Linked DNA regions of Homo sapiens: all the other regions are linked to region 4. The links are contacts of gene promoters, found by promoter capture Hi-C in blood cells and fetal thymus (Javierre and others, 2016). All regions are on one chromosome and are shown on one strand. Each heading gives the region's core, a stretch centred on a gene start or on the middle of the fragment in contact. The rest is flanking DNA. Distances are from core to core; before and after follow the strand shown.

Region 1 (2,700 bases), core at 65-2,564, 850 kb after region 4:
AAACAGATTTGTATGTGAAACAGTTGCTACATTCTGACATCTGAATAGAACAATTCCAAAGGAGGAAAGGGACGTCTAGAGTTACCTCTATCTGAGCATTCCCCGTGTTCACTCAGTTGGAGGTTGGGTTCTGTGTGGAGAAAAGGAGATTGTTCAGGGAAAGTAAGTCTATTACTACTGCATTCGAATTGCCCTGCTCAGTCCAAGGTACCAGAGGCTCTCTTAATAACATGGAGTTCTAAGTTCCTGGCCGGCCCTGTGTCCTTTAATCAAACAGTTCTAATAGATAATAGGAAATGAGAGATGCCACTAGATTGGGCAGACAGATGTGCCTGATTAGGGACTGCGAGAGCAAAGAGTGGCCAATGAATGCCTACTAAGTTTTAAACCCTAGCCTGGGAGTTGGGCTTTACAGCAGTGAAGACAACAGACGAAAATCTTTGCGTTCATGGTGTTTAAATTCTGCAGGGTGGGGAGCGGAGAATAAAAAAGTACGGTAGATAGTATGTCAGATACTGTTCAGTGTTAGGAAGAAAAGGAACGGGAATGGCCAAGGAAAGCGTTTCAGAAAAGATAATATTTGAGGGAAACAATGAAGTGAAGCCGGGCGCAGTGGCTCACGCCTGTAATCCCAGCACTTCGGGAGGCCGAGGTGGGCGGATCAGCTGAGGTCCGGAGTTCGAGACCAGCCTGGCCAACCAGCCTGGCCAACATGTTAAAACCCCGTCTCTACAAAAATTAGTCGGACGTGGTGTCGCGCGCCTGTCATCCCAGCTACACGGGAGGCTGAGGCAGGAAGAATCGCTTGAACCCGGGAGGCCAAGGCTGCAGTGAGCCGAGATGGCGCCACTGCATTCCAGCGTAGGCGACAGAGCAAGATTCCTTCTCAAAAAAAAATAAAAAAAAAAAAATGAAGTGAGAGAAAGTAGTATGTTATGTGCCATAATTGTCATATCAATTATATATGTTTAGATTCTGGTTATTTGTAGGCAGTTTGTCTCAATCTGGCCTACTCACAGCTCAGGAAAAAATAATGAAAGAGCTTCGCCAGGTAATTTGGGAAGTTGAAAGAAAGGAGTCCGGGCCTCTAAAACCAGACAGAAAATAACCCTATCTTATCCCTAATTCTGTTTCACAGGAGAAAAGGGAAAAATACCCAAAACACAAACACTCAAAGCTTCCTGGCCCTTTAAAAATGGCGGTTCCGCACTGGTCAACAATACCATTGGTTACCCGAGGCAGAAGAGGGCGGGAGCGAAGGGGTGGAGGGCGTGTCGGCACCGAGGAGGTCCCGCCTCCTACGGCAAGTCGGAGGTAGCAAGATGGCCGCCGCTGAGGAAGGCTGTAGTGTCGGGGCCGAAGCGGACAGGGAATTGGAGGAGCTTCTGGAAAGTAAGAGCCCATAGTGGGAAAGGCCCGAAGAGGGCACGTGTGAGGACCCATTCTGGGGGTTAAGTGAACCTGAGATATTAGGGACGGGCAGGAGAGGCTCTCCAAAGGTTAAATGGGGGCGGAGAGTCTGACCCCCGAGCCCCCCAAAAATCTCTGGGTCATCCTGCCCCACCCCGGCGACTGGAGCTGGGGAGCTCACCTGGGGTCCCTCAGTGGTCCGGATGGTGGATGTTTCCGCAGGACGGCGTTTCATGATACCTCTTCAAACTCCTCTTTAGGTTACTGAGTTCTTAAAGTTCGACTTCAGCAGCAGTAGCAGCAGCAGCAGCATTTGGTTCTTGCTGGGTAGCGAACTACGCACTCACTGATTGCTTACATTAACTCCTAGCAAGCTCGTGGCCGGTCCTTGTGTGCCTCGTCCTGTCTTCCTTAACACGAAAGACACTTTTCTCCTCCTAGTCCTTTTCTCTTTCTCTCGTTAGGCCCCTTAACAGTTCTTTCATCTTGTCAGTAGCTCAAGCGGACTCCTTTCCCTTATTTTGAGAAACTGAGGATGTGGCGATTTCAGGGGAAAGCAGTTCACCCTCCTGAAAGACGGGGGATGTTTTCTTAGCATTACTCTCCACTCCCCTGTTGACTTCCTGCCCAGAGTAGGGCCAGTGCTCTCTCCCTAGGCCTGGCGAACAGAATGGTGGTGAGGACACAGGCTTTTCAGGGCAGAGGTGAATTTGTAATCGCTTGCTCAATCACGGAGATGTGGGCAGGCAGAAAAATGAACAGAAACCCTGAGGAGTGCCAAGTGACTGTGTAAATTAGTGTACGGTTATCTGCAGAGATCAGGCCAAAGGGAGCTCTAGAAGGTTGTTGGGGAGCACTAAACTGGAGAATAAGAGAAGATAGTTTAATGCCGTACCATGGAGTCTGGTATGTAGTCCCTCAGTCTGTGCTGGTACCAGTACCAACAGGAAGCTGGGTGGGATGTCCTGTGCTTTCTCACCAAGTTATTCCTTTTAGAGCTCCAGAGTGAGTTCAGAGGGATGAGGACATCTGTGTTCTCTACTACTGTTGGGTATTTGTATGGGATTTCTAGGGAATCGTTAGGGTGTGGCAAGGGAGACACTATAGATGGAGATGTCTCTGCAGAACTTTTTAATCCTCTCCTCCCAGCTCTGAGATGGACATTTGTTCCACCTTAAGGGATTTCTTTGCCTTTGCTCACAATAAATTAGGTAATCCAGAAGGAAGTAGGAGGCTCATTGAGGGTGGTCTGGGGAGGTGGGGGACTCAAGGAGGAAAATTGAGGAAAGT
Region 2 (2,700 bases), core at 53-2,552, 730 kb after region 4:
AATCAACATGTTTTCACATGTCTCCCCTGGGAAAACATCTTATTTGCCCCTCCATCCCCTGTGCTTCACACTGTGCCTGGCAGATAGGAGAGAGTGCCTAATGTGGTCGGCCAAAGGAAGATCAGAACCAAAGCCTAGTTCTCCTATCCCGACTCCGACCTCTCTCCCTTAATGATGATTATCCCTCAGAATCCGAACCATCCAGCTAACATTTACTATGTGCCAGGAACTGTGCAACGTGCTTTCTCTATTATTTCATTTAATCCTCATAACCCCAAGAAGTAGGGCCTATTATTAATTCCATTTTACAGGTGAGGCTTCAAAAAGTTACCAGTTTTGTCTGATGTCACGGAATTAGACAGTGGCAAAGCCAGAATTTAAAAGCAAACCAGGGAAGAAAGCCACTTGGTGGGGGACCAGGGATTCCTTGTGGAAGGGCTCAGTCTAGGCTTGGAGGATGTGCCTTAAGACACCTAAGAGGCTGGGGAATGGGGTTTATTACTTGCCCAGATCACACCACTGTTAAGTACTAATTCCAACCAACTCTGACTCCTTTCTCTGGCCTCACAATGTGATGAACACTTGAGGGAAGGAGAAGACTGGAGTTCCCTAAAACTCAGAGGGGATCAGATCTCTTCCTTTTCCCTGCCAAAGCTTCTGTTAGTCAAGTTCCCTCCCCATTAACTGGAAGGACCTGGAAACCAGATGAGCAGATAAAAAACTGTCCTGCTCTAGGGCCAGGGAAGGGGGGATATTTCCTCAGATCTAAAAGGATCAGGAGGAGAGGCAAACACACCAGAGAGGCCTGCCCCGGAAGAATTAGAGGAAATAGAAGTCAGGAGCAAGACAATGGGTGAGGAGGGGCCAACGTGGCCACTGACTCCCAATCTGGAAGTACTTTCAGAAATGGCATTTCCTATTATCTGACCACAATTCCTCCTCTTTGGAAGAGAGCCCCCACCAGCATAATATATCATGCATGTGATCAGCGTATACAGAGCAAACAAGGGACCCCAGAGGGCCAGGGCACACCATCTTAGATGCAAGTGCCTTACTAGCCCTGGGAGCCCTAACTATCAGACAGGTGTTGGGTTTGGGGGAATGATCCATTAAAAAAAAAAAAAGGTCTTTTAAAGGTCTTTTCCTACTCTGCCCCGTTCCCCGTTCCTCGTTCAAACATTTTCTAACCCCTACTACTCTTATCTCCAGGCCTTAGGGAGGGTAGGGAGCCCTGAGGACTAAAGAGGGAACATTCCAATTGCACATGCCCATTAGAGACTCTAACATTCCAATTGCAATTGCCCAGAGACCATAATGGGTATGTACAATCTCACCTCAGCTCTTAAAACTGGGTGCCTCAACCCAGCCACTGGCAGCAAAAAGAGTGTGCAATGGGGGAAGGCTAGTATCCTAAAGAAGGAGGTGAGCAACCCCTTTCCTATACCCCAAAAGAGAAAGGATGAGAGAGGACAGGGAGAGAAGGGAGCTGTGGCTTCTTGGTGGAAAGAGACATTCACTTCCTGGATAGTCACTGACTTCCCACCACACTATCATGATGATGAGTATAGCAGTATAGCCTGCAATGGGTACCTGGCCCTTTCCCGACACACAGACACTCAGCCCTGGCCCCACACCCACAGCTCCATCTCAATCATGCTTGACACCAGGGAAAAGGGAAACTTTTTGGTCTGATAAACCACACAGACTCACTTGCAAAAGCTGCTGAAGAAACACCCTATGCCACCTTCTCAACCCCATGGGCAGGGAACCCAAGCTGTTCCCCACCAGGTCTCAACCCTCCAGACATGCTTCCTCCTCTTGTTTCCATCCCACACCAAAATCTCAAGACTCCTCAGGAACTTTAGGATCTTAGAGTCAGGGCAGAGTTAGAAGGCTATGAAGCAGCAAACTCTGAGACGGCTTTCCAAGAGAACTGTGGCCTGAAGCTTTTACCTAAGGCTGGGAATCCAAGAGTGTAGCTTCTCCAAGCGCTGGAACCCAGCCTATGACGATGGGGGAGGAAGTTCCTCTTATTCTTCTCCCTGACCCCGCCAATCTTCCAAATTCCTCTAGGACTACAACCAGACCCCTTGTTCCCTATTCCCCACAACACACGCCCTCTTCCAGAAAAACCCATCCCCCAAAAACAGGCACTTCATAAGACAACTCATTCCCTCCCACCCATAGGTCTCAGATACTTAAGGTACTACCCCTAAACCCAGGCGAGGCCATCCACGAAGTCTCAAAATCCTGCAGACAGCCTTCTTTTCGGGATTTTTGCCAGGAAAATCTGCCTGCAGAGTCTAGAGGTACCCCCGACACACACTCAGAAACATACATACCAGCTAAGGCAGGCACACACATTGATACCCATCAACACAGGTTACACACAAGAGAACACAGATTCACACCCCTTCCCAGTACACAGGTGCACACACACCTATCCACATACACTCCATTCTGCTCTTACACACCCACCTTCCTCAGTACCTACACACCTCTTTCCCGTGAACCCCTCTCCCAGTACACACACATAGACATACACGCCCTCCCCTAAGTATACATATAAACACATATCCAAACACACAGCAGATGCATGGTCAGCCGCTCCCTGGGTGCACACACACTCAAGCACAGAAAAACACCTACACATCCAAACCAGGGGCCCACCTGCAGGAACATGCAGCACGTCAAGGCGTG
Region 3 (2,700 bases), core at 182-2,681, 600 kb after region 4:
ACCTGTAGTCCCAGCTACTTGGAAGGCTGAGGCACGAGAATTGCTTGAACCCGGGAGGCAGAGGTTGCAGTGAGCTGAGATGGTGCCACTGCACTCCAGCCTGGGCAACAGAGCAAGACTCTTTCTCAAAAGAAAGAAAAGAAAGAAAAAAAAAAGAAAAGGAAAGGAAAGAAAGAAAGAGAGAGAGAAAGTTAGTTTATAATTAGAAGAAATTCTTTAACCTGAAAAAAAATGGAAAGATATTCAGTGGTCTAATTGCCAAAAGTGTACCAGCCTAGATGGTCTTAAGGGCTAGTCCTATCACCTACAATGAAAGGATAATTCCCAGTCATCTTAACTGTCCCAAGGCATAGAAAACAGTGGGAAGCTTCCAAATTCATTAAATACTATAATATAACACTGATTCCAAAGCCAGATAAGGATGATCCCCCACAAAGAGATACATAGGCCAGGAGTTAGCAAACTATGGCGTGTGGCCACATCCAGTCTGCCATCTGTTTTTATTTGACCCACGAACTAAGAATAGTTTACATTTTTAAAATGGTTGAAAAGAATTCAAAGAATAATAATATTTTGGGACATGTTAAAATTATGTGAAATTCAAATTTCAGCATCCATAAATAAAGTTTTATTGAAACACAGCCAACACGCATTCTTTTATGTGTTTATTATGGCTGCTTCCATACTACACCAGCAGAGTTGAGTAGTTGCAAAGGAGATTGTATGGTCCACAAAGTCCAATATTCACTACTGGGACCTTTACAGAAAAAGTCTGCCACATCCTGATATAGTCCAATCTCACTTATAAATATAAATGTTAAAAATCTTAAACTTCAGTCAATTTTAAAGCAATGCATTAAAAGAAAAAAAAATGCGACCAAGTAGGATTTTATCCTTAGAGTGCCAGGATGATTTATCTTTAAGAAACCATCTATTGTAATTTGCTGTTCAAACAGATTAAAGGAGATGAAAAAAATAATCATCCTGACATAGTCTACAATATATATTTGATAAAACTGAATACCCATGACTGATTTAAAAAGTTTTCAAGAAAGCTAAAAATAGAATGTGTTTTAGTCAATATCCAATTTTAAAAAACTGAGACCATGTTAAATACTGAAAACTCAACAAGCTGAATATAGGGAATTGATTCCAAAAGTGATGGAGGAGTAAAACAGGGAAGCTGAGGTTACCAAGCAATTAATAATTCCAGGAAGTTGCTATGGAACTTTGTCCCTATGGAAATTTGTCTTGGGAATCAGTGCTGCCAGCTTTCAAGATTCTAAGAGTTCACAGTCTCATCAAAACTGTGAGACTCTGGGAGACAAAAATAACTCACCACTGCAGATGCCACCATCAAAGCCTGATCCCACCAGTACCACACTAGCAAGACTTCTGACATGCTTGCTGGAACTGCACTGCTACACCAGGAACCCTGAAGCGGTACTCATCTTCTGCTATCACTGCCACTACTGAAAACATTACCAGAAACCAAGATTATGGAAAAATATATAATTTATTCCTTCCATCCAACTTTAACCAATACCACCCAGTGACAAAATCTAATCAGAAGCCATCTGACAATGGAAATGATAAATGTAGTTTGCAGACTTCTAACCTTCTGAAAAACAAGGAACACAGAAGGGTGGGAATAGAGCTGAGAGCAAATAAGCAAATGACTGGCTCGGGTTAAACTTTTACAACTTGATACAGCATATGTAGCAAACATTTATTGGAAACATTAGAGGCATTCTTAATAAAGAAATGAATACAAGTAACCATTCTTGTATTCAGTGAATACAAGATCACTGCTACTCTTCAACTGTATTGTATTGAAGATCCTTGTTAGTAAAGTGAGTCAAGAAATACATATAAGAGGCTATCTCACATCTAGAATCAGTCATTTTTCTAAGGGGCATTGGTTCTTCAGAGAGAATATTATTTATCCACCAAGATCTTGGATAATGTCACTAATTTTTAGTTACTTAAGAAATATGTGAACACATTTCTATCATCTTTTTAAAAATCAGTGTAAAAGTATAGAGATAGAGAGAGTGATGTCAGCAAAGTGGTGGACTAGGAAATTCCAAACTCTCTCTTTCCCCCAACTTAGAGTAATAAAAAAACAGCCAAACAAACAAAAAAAAACCCAAATGGTTGAATTAACCTTATAGGGACTCTGGAAAACAGTCAGAGTTTTATAACAACCAATCAAATGCCCAATGAAGAAAAAGCCACTTTTGAAATGGTAGGAAAAGTTCCATGGCATTTTTCTTGCCCTTGCCCCATCCCCTCCTCATCCCAACAGAAAGCTTGTTTAGAGGAGGCAGGAGTTCACTTCTCAGTTCCCTCTCTTGAATGGGAGGGAACATAACAGATCTTATTTGCAATATTCTAATCTGTCTTAGGAGTCCATGAAGAACTGGTCTCTATTTCACTTAATTCAGATCTCAAGTGGGAAAGTGCCACTACTATGAACCCAAAGCTATCAAAATAAAGAAAATAATAAAGATTAGACCAGAGATAAAATAGAGAAAATTAATGAACCAAAAAGTTGATTACTTAAAAGGATCAACGAAATTGGCAAATTTAGTTAGAGTGGTTATGGAAAAAAAGACAGAGTGCTCAAATTACTAAAATTGGAAATGAAAATGAGGACACTACAACCAATTTTTCAGAAATGAATAGAAGAGACTACTA
Region 4 (2,700 bases), core at 152-2,651:
TTGTATTTTTAGAAGAGACAGGGTTTCACCATGTTGGTCAGGCTGGTCTCGAACTCCTGGCCTCAAGTGATCCACCCGCCTCGGCCTCCCAAAGCTAGGATTACAGGTGTGAGTCACCATGCCCGGCCCTGATGTATATATTTTAGTTAGCATTTTACTATATCTCTGTTACACTAAACGCTTTCACCAGTTTCCTTGATAGTTCTCTATGGTTTTCTTCTTTCCTTTCGGTTTGCCCCTTCTCAGTGTTCTTTTCGGCTTCCCTCATCCTATCCCGCAAATGCAGGTATCCTCTCCAGCCCACTTCATGGCTTCAACAGCTATCTATATGCACACGCACACACACCTCAAACCTTTCTTTTGAGTTCCCAACCCACATTAGCTAATATCCCAGGGGCACCTAAAACTCATTATCTCCCCCCTAAACGAGAAAGAAACTGGTATCATTATTCCCCAGTTGTCCAAGTCACAACATTCGTACCTCTTAAACCAATCTGTATCTCCCCATCCGCACTCTCCCTTCCACAGGCAGACCATCATCATCCTTGCCTGGAAAAGAGCCTCACAACTGCTCTCCTTGATTCTCCTCAATTCATTCATCCTTCACACTGCACGCAGCGATCTAAAATGCAAATGAAATTGTTCACACCTCTGCTGAGATTCTTCAAAGACTTTTCATTGCCTTAAGGATAAAAATCAATTAATTTACAAGGCTTCGCATAATCTGGTCTTCCCCTATCTATTACCACTTTCTTAAGCCACACCAGAACGTACCCGCACCATCCTCCCCACCCCCAATTCCCAACAGCCCTACACGGATCAGCTAGGCGACACTTCCTACAGGAAACCGGCGTTCAAAAGGTAAATGCTGAACAAATGAATTCCGAGACGGGATCTGGGCACCACTTTCGGCTCCGGATCCGGGTTTACGGAACGTCCGGGTTATCAGGAAGCTCAGAGGAAAGGTGAAATCCAGATCTTGACCCTTCACTCAAGTTCGCCAGACAAACCGATCCCCGTGGTATTCCGCCCTTATGAGTCATGGCTGCCAATCCCAGCCTTCCAGTGGGTCTTGAAGTCGCCACCAGCCAGCTGTGGCGCCACCAATGTTTCCCATTCAAGAATGCTATCCTCTTCGATCCCTTATTACCGCCCTAAGCAGCCGTCAAGACAAACCGGCGTTGCCAGCTTGCCCCAAAGCAAGATGGCTGCCAATCTCTATCTCTCCTCCCGAAGTGAAGCTATCCACTCCCCGATTAATGCCGCTGCCAGGCTGCCCTCACTTACTATGGCTACTCCGGCTCATGTCTCACTATGGCCTCGAAGCCGCCACTAACCGGCCGGGTTCCGGGAGGCGCCGTTCAGGATGCAGCCACCCCCGCCCGCCTGTCCCCTCCCCCACGGCCGCGGCGGCGGCGGCGGCGGCGGCTGCTGGAGCCCGGATGCGGCGCCGTGAGGCAGGCCCGGGAGAGCGGCGCGGATGGATCCAACATGGCGGCGCCGAGCCTGAGCCGAGAGTGAGGCGGAGGGGCGGCCGGAGTGGGGAGAGGGAGTCGAGCGGGACGGGGCGGGGCCGGGCGGGGCCGCAAAGGGCTTGGGGAAGGAAAGTGGAGGGGGAGGCGGTGGCGACGTCCAGCCTGAGAACCTCAAGAGAGGGAGGTGACGGGACGCTGAGAGGTGGGGGAGGGGAGCTGCCGAGGGGGGCGTGCAGGGGAGATGGCAACTGCGGGAGAGGGCAGGGGTCGAGACGGAGGAGTGAGGGCATGGGGAGGGGCGTAAACAAGGGCTGAGACTGGGCCCAGCCAGGGGTATTAGAGAGGCCGAGGTGGGGAGTGGGGCTGCGATCCGCTCGTATTGAAGGGGGTAGGAGCAGGAGGGAGAGGCTGAGGGTGTGAAGGGGAAGGGGGCTGTGGCATGTGGTTGGAGGGAGGACTGGACTCTGATGAGGGGTGTTGCGAGGAGGTGGGTAAAGGTCAGAATTGGAGTTAAGACGTTTCTGGGGGGCTTCGAAAGTGTTAAATTGGAGGTGGGAGGGGGAAGGGCCTAGGGGAGAATTTGGGTGGAAAAGGAGAGAACGGAGGCTTGGGGAATGGAGAGAGTGTCGGTGGGAGGAGGTAATGGAGAAAGTGAGAGACTGGGAGGAAGAAAGTTTGGGAGGAAGGGGAGTGGAATGGGAGATAGGACAGTGGAGCTGCACGGGTGATAGAGGTTCGGGGGTTTCCCTTTCCCCGGTGGAGAGGAGGAGAGAACAGAGTTAAGCAGCATCAGTTGCAGCCAATTCTAATTGCCAGGCCCTTAGCTTTTAAGAGGGTGGGAAGGGCAGAAGGGAATGGTCATGTGGGTTTGCAGAATTGGGGTTGGATGAGAATTCAACTGGGTTTGTTTTCCAAAAGACTCCCTAGCTTACTGTTCCCTTGTTTTTCCTGCTTGGGAAAATGGGGAAGCCGGTGTCGCCCAAGTGTGGAGGAGCAAAGGACTTTTCTAGTTTTTAGCATTAGCAATACAAGAGTGGGGGAGCAGACATGGCTATATTGGAACCCTATATGCTAAGGTGGAGGCTCTGGAAGTCTGAGGAGGGAAAGAGAAAAGATAGAGTGGCATCTAGACAGGTTAATTAAATGAGTGCTGTAGTTTCCAGACCCTTTTGCTGTTTTAAGTCTGGAAGGGAGGGGGTAACATGGATACTGTATGTAGAAAAAC
Region 5 (2,700 bases), core at 194-2,693, 870 kb after region 4:
ATAGTCAAGAGCTGCCTGTGTTAGGAAGTAGGATTTCAATAGACACCTCAAGTCTAGTAAATATCTAGTAGATGGACATTCCAAGAAAAGGAAAAAAACCCTAGGGCTGGGACATGCTTTGACTGGAGTGACAGTAAGGCTAGTGAGGCTAGAGCAGAGCTAGGCAGTGTGGGAGGAGATGAATCAGATAAATAGGCAGGTGCTAGATCAGATCATGTAGGGTCCTCCTTAGAGGCAATTCATTTTTTGATGGCCTCTAAGGCTATCATACTTTTGACTTTTATTATGTGATGGGAATTGGAGGTTTTGAGCAGGGTGGGGACTGGGGAAATAATACGACATTACTTTTTTTTTGAGACGGAGTCTCATTCCATTGCCCAGCCTGGAGTGCAGTGGTGCGATCTCAGCTCACTGCAACCTCCGCCTCCGGGTTCAAGCAATTCTCCTGCCTCAGCCTCCCAAGTAGCTGGGATTGCAGGCGCGCTCCACCATGCCGGGTAATTTTTTTTTTTTTTTGTATTTTTCGTAGAGACGGGTTTCACCATGTTGGCCTGGTTTCAAACGAGTTTCGAACTCCTGACCTCAAGTGATCCGCCCACATCCGCCTCCCAAAGTGCTAGGATTACAGGCATGAGCCACCGCGCCCGGCCAGACCTTACATTTTTAAAAAGCACTCTGGCTGCCTTATGTTTAACTGTAATGGCAATAATGGAAGTAGACAAACGAGGTAAGTTTCTATTGCGGTAGTCTTAAGTAATATGTAATGACTTGGAATAGGAGAGTAGCGGTAGGGGAGGTGAGAAAGGGTCAGATTTTTGCACCCTGGGCTTCTGGTAAGAAAAAAAAAAAAAATACCCCAGCCTGGCAGCTGGGAGTAATCCTCTGCAGGGTTACTGTAGGTGTCATAACGAAACAGAGTACAAAAGTCACCCCACATCACCCGGCCCACTCTTGGGAACCTTTACCCACACCACCTCTCTTCAGAAAAGAGCTTCTGGAATAGCTACACCTCAAGCTACTGAGCCCCTTCTTTAAAAATACGTAAATGGGGACTCTCAGGGGAAAATGGGCCTCGATAGTATAGAAACCACTTAAGGAAACAAAGCCCTGAAAGGAAACGGGGATTTTCAGAAGAAATCCTTGTGGCAATCATTGCTCGTTCCAGTGTTCAAAAACGGCAAAACTGGCCATCATCCAGGAAGTGGCCTGCCAATCCGCTGGAAATTTAGTTTATTTCTATCACAACTCTGGGTAGCCCCTAACTCGCATTTGTTTAGAGTATCACAAGATAAGCAAGCCCGAAGAAACTACAAAAACAACTTTGCCTCTTCGGTAATGCGCAGGCGCCTCTCGCTCTGTTTTCCGTTGGCCTTAAGCCCCGCCCCTTGTGCGTCCTTCGAGGAGGGTTGCGAGCCGTGAGCTCGCGCGACCACTCTTCCCTCAGTCTTCTCGAGCACATCGTCGCAAACGGGGCCGGAAAGCGTGGCAGCGCAGGCGCAAGCGCAGAGAGCGGAGGCGGTGGTGGTGGCGGCCGCTGGCCAGTGTAAGATGGCGGCGGCGTTGGTGGTGGCAGTGGACGGGGCGGCTGGGCCTGGAACAGTCGGAGCAGCCGCTAGCAGAAGGATGACCCAAGACGGGAAGCGGGCTGCTGAGCCTCGCCGATTCCCGTGCTTGTAACTGCCCCAGCCGGACACCCCCCCTCCCTTGACCTACCCGGTCTGTGTCTCGTTCCGGCTCGGCCTGCGCCCCCCCTCGCTTCCCAGCCGGTTTCCCCTAAGGATGGGCCTGACCCGTATCCCAAGCTCTTAGCGCTCAGGTCTTTTCCTTCCGCCGACCCGAAGTCATCGCTGGGAGTACTGGTTGCCCTTTCCTCAGGTCAGCCCTGGTGTTGCCCCCAAGAGCCAGCCGCACAGTTCACAGGGACGCCTTGCTTCGTTGGGTGACCCATGTGTGCGCTCCTATTTCTCCCCTTAGATTGAGGGACACGGCTCGCCCTGCGTCTCCCCGTCACCTCAGGGCCACCGCGCAATGTGTCCCCCTCCCCCATCCCAAGTTCCCAGGCCCAGCACCTTGTACGGAAGGCGGAGGTCCAAGAATTCCGGAGTCGGTTGTTGTCTTGTGGTCTTGTACCCTTTGTAATATAATTATCTTAGTTTACCTCCTCTAACTCCCAAATCTTTTAGGATATCTTAGAACGGTCCCATTTGGTCCCTGTTAGTTGGAAAGCATCTGGTGGCTTGAATTTCTGACTCATGATTGTTACTGGAGTCTCTGTAAACAAACCGGCACTAGCGCTATCACATTCTCTCCGGGATTTCCCCCCCTGCTCTGTGGCTTCTTGTTGAGAGGTTGTTTGGTTATGGTTTAGCGTTGAAAAGATTCAGGTTATCCTTTTAAATGACTTTACGTTTTAGTGGAGCTGGGAGATTACTTGCCTGGCTTCTAATCTTCATGTTGGTTCATTTTATTTCCATATGTGTGTGGGTTATTTGTTCAGTAATTAGAATTAGATAAAGTATTCTGCTTTTAAGTAGTTTTGAGAAGGCCTAAAAATACTAAAGTGTATTCATAAATATTTTTATTATGTTCAGTAGAAGACACACCTTTGCCATGTAAATTTTAACTTTTCTCAGTCCTTCAGTGAATCTACAGACCTATTTTCTCAGGAGCTCAGCCTGGCCTTACTTCAGTGATAAAAGG

The links. Contacts are between HindIII fragments. The CHiCAGO score rates a contact against its expected background, and 5 or more counts as called.
Region 1: the fragment with the promoter of PEX19 here is called in contact with the fragment with the promoter of DEDD in region 4 in 5 of 17 cell types (non-activated CD4 T cells, fetal thymus, total CD4 T cells and 2 more); the score reaches 7.5 in non-activated CD4 T cells.
Region 2: a fragment that was not itself captured here is called in contact with the fragment with the promoter of DEDD in region 4 in 1 of 17 cell types (fetal thymus); the score reaches 5.1 in fetal thymus.
Region 3: a contact is called between the fragment with the promoter of CD84-AS1 here and the fragment with the promoter of DEDD in region 4, in 11 of 17 cell types (total B cells, total CD4 T cells, naive B cells and 8 more). The highest score is 16.7, in total B cells.
Region 5: the fragment with the promoter of DCAF8 here is called in contact with the fragment with the promoter of DEDD in region 4 in 2 of 17 cell types (non-activated CD4 T cells and total CD4 T cells); the score reaches 8.0 in non-activated CD4 T cells.

The regions. Positions count from the first base shown.
Region 1 is chr1:160,283,747-160,286,446 of GRCh38, reverse strand. It overlaps PEX19 (peroxisomal biogenesis factor 19), which reads left to right and starts at 1,314. Exons shown (of 8, transcript NM_002857.4): 1 at 1,314-1,392. The coding sequence starts at 1,323. LOC107985219 (a long non-coding RNA gene) reads right to left here and starts at 2,082. Exons shown (of 3, transcript XR_001738265.2): 1 at 1,592-2,082; 2 at 86-130. The HindIII fragment of the contact is 4,290 bases long and covers 1,180-2,700 here.
Region 2 is chr1:160,401,572-160,404,271 of GRCh38, reverse strand. All of the region lies in intron 1 of VANGL2 (VANGL planar cell polarity protein 2), which reads right to left. The region is part of intron 3 of LOC105371466 (a long non-coding RNA gene); the gene reads left to right. Among named protein-coding and RNA genes, the nearest start is that of VANGL2, 2.4 kb to the right of the region's middle. The HindIII fragment of the contact is 1,292 bases long and covers 657-1,948 here.
Region 3 is chr1:160,535,827-160,538,526 of GRCh38, reverse strand. CD84-AS1 (CD84 antisense RNA 1) reads right to left here and starts at 1,431. Exons shown (of 2, transcript NR_188634.1): 1 at 1,340-1,431. The HindIII fragment of the contact is 1,945 bases long and covers 370-2,314 here.
Region 4 is chr1:161,131,368-161,134,067 of GRCh38, reverse strand. DEDD (death effector domain containing) reads left to right here and starts at 1,401. Exons shown (of 6, transcript NM_032998.3): 1 at 1,401-1,517. RefSeq lists enhancers at 937-1,246, 1,708-2,531 and silencers at 1,267-1,616, 1,667-1,886. The HindIII fragment of the contact is 8,185 bases long and covers 1-2,700 here.
Region 5 is chr1:160,261,292-160,263,991 of GRCh38, reverse strand. DCAF8 (DDB1 and CUL4 associated factor 8) reads left to right here and starts at 1,443. Exons shown (of 14, transcript NM_015726.4): 1 at 1,443-1,543; 2 at 2,634-2,700. DCAF8-DT (DCAF8 divergent transcript) reads right to left here and starts at 2,243. Exons shown (of 2, transcript NR_147618.1): 1 at 2,070-2,243; 2 at 1,214-1,591. RefSeq lists enhancers at 1,359-1,628, 2,259-2,388, 1,560-2,508. The HindIII fragment of the contact is 7,814 bases long and covers 1-2,700 here.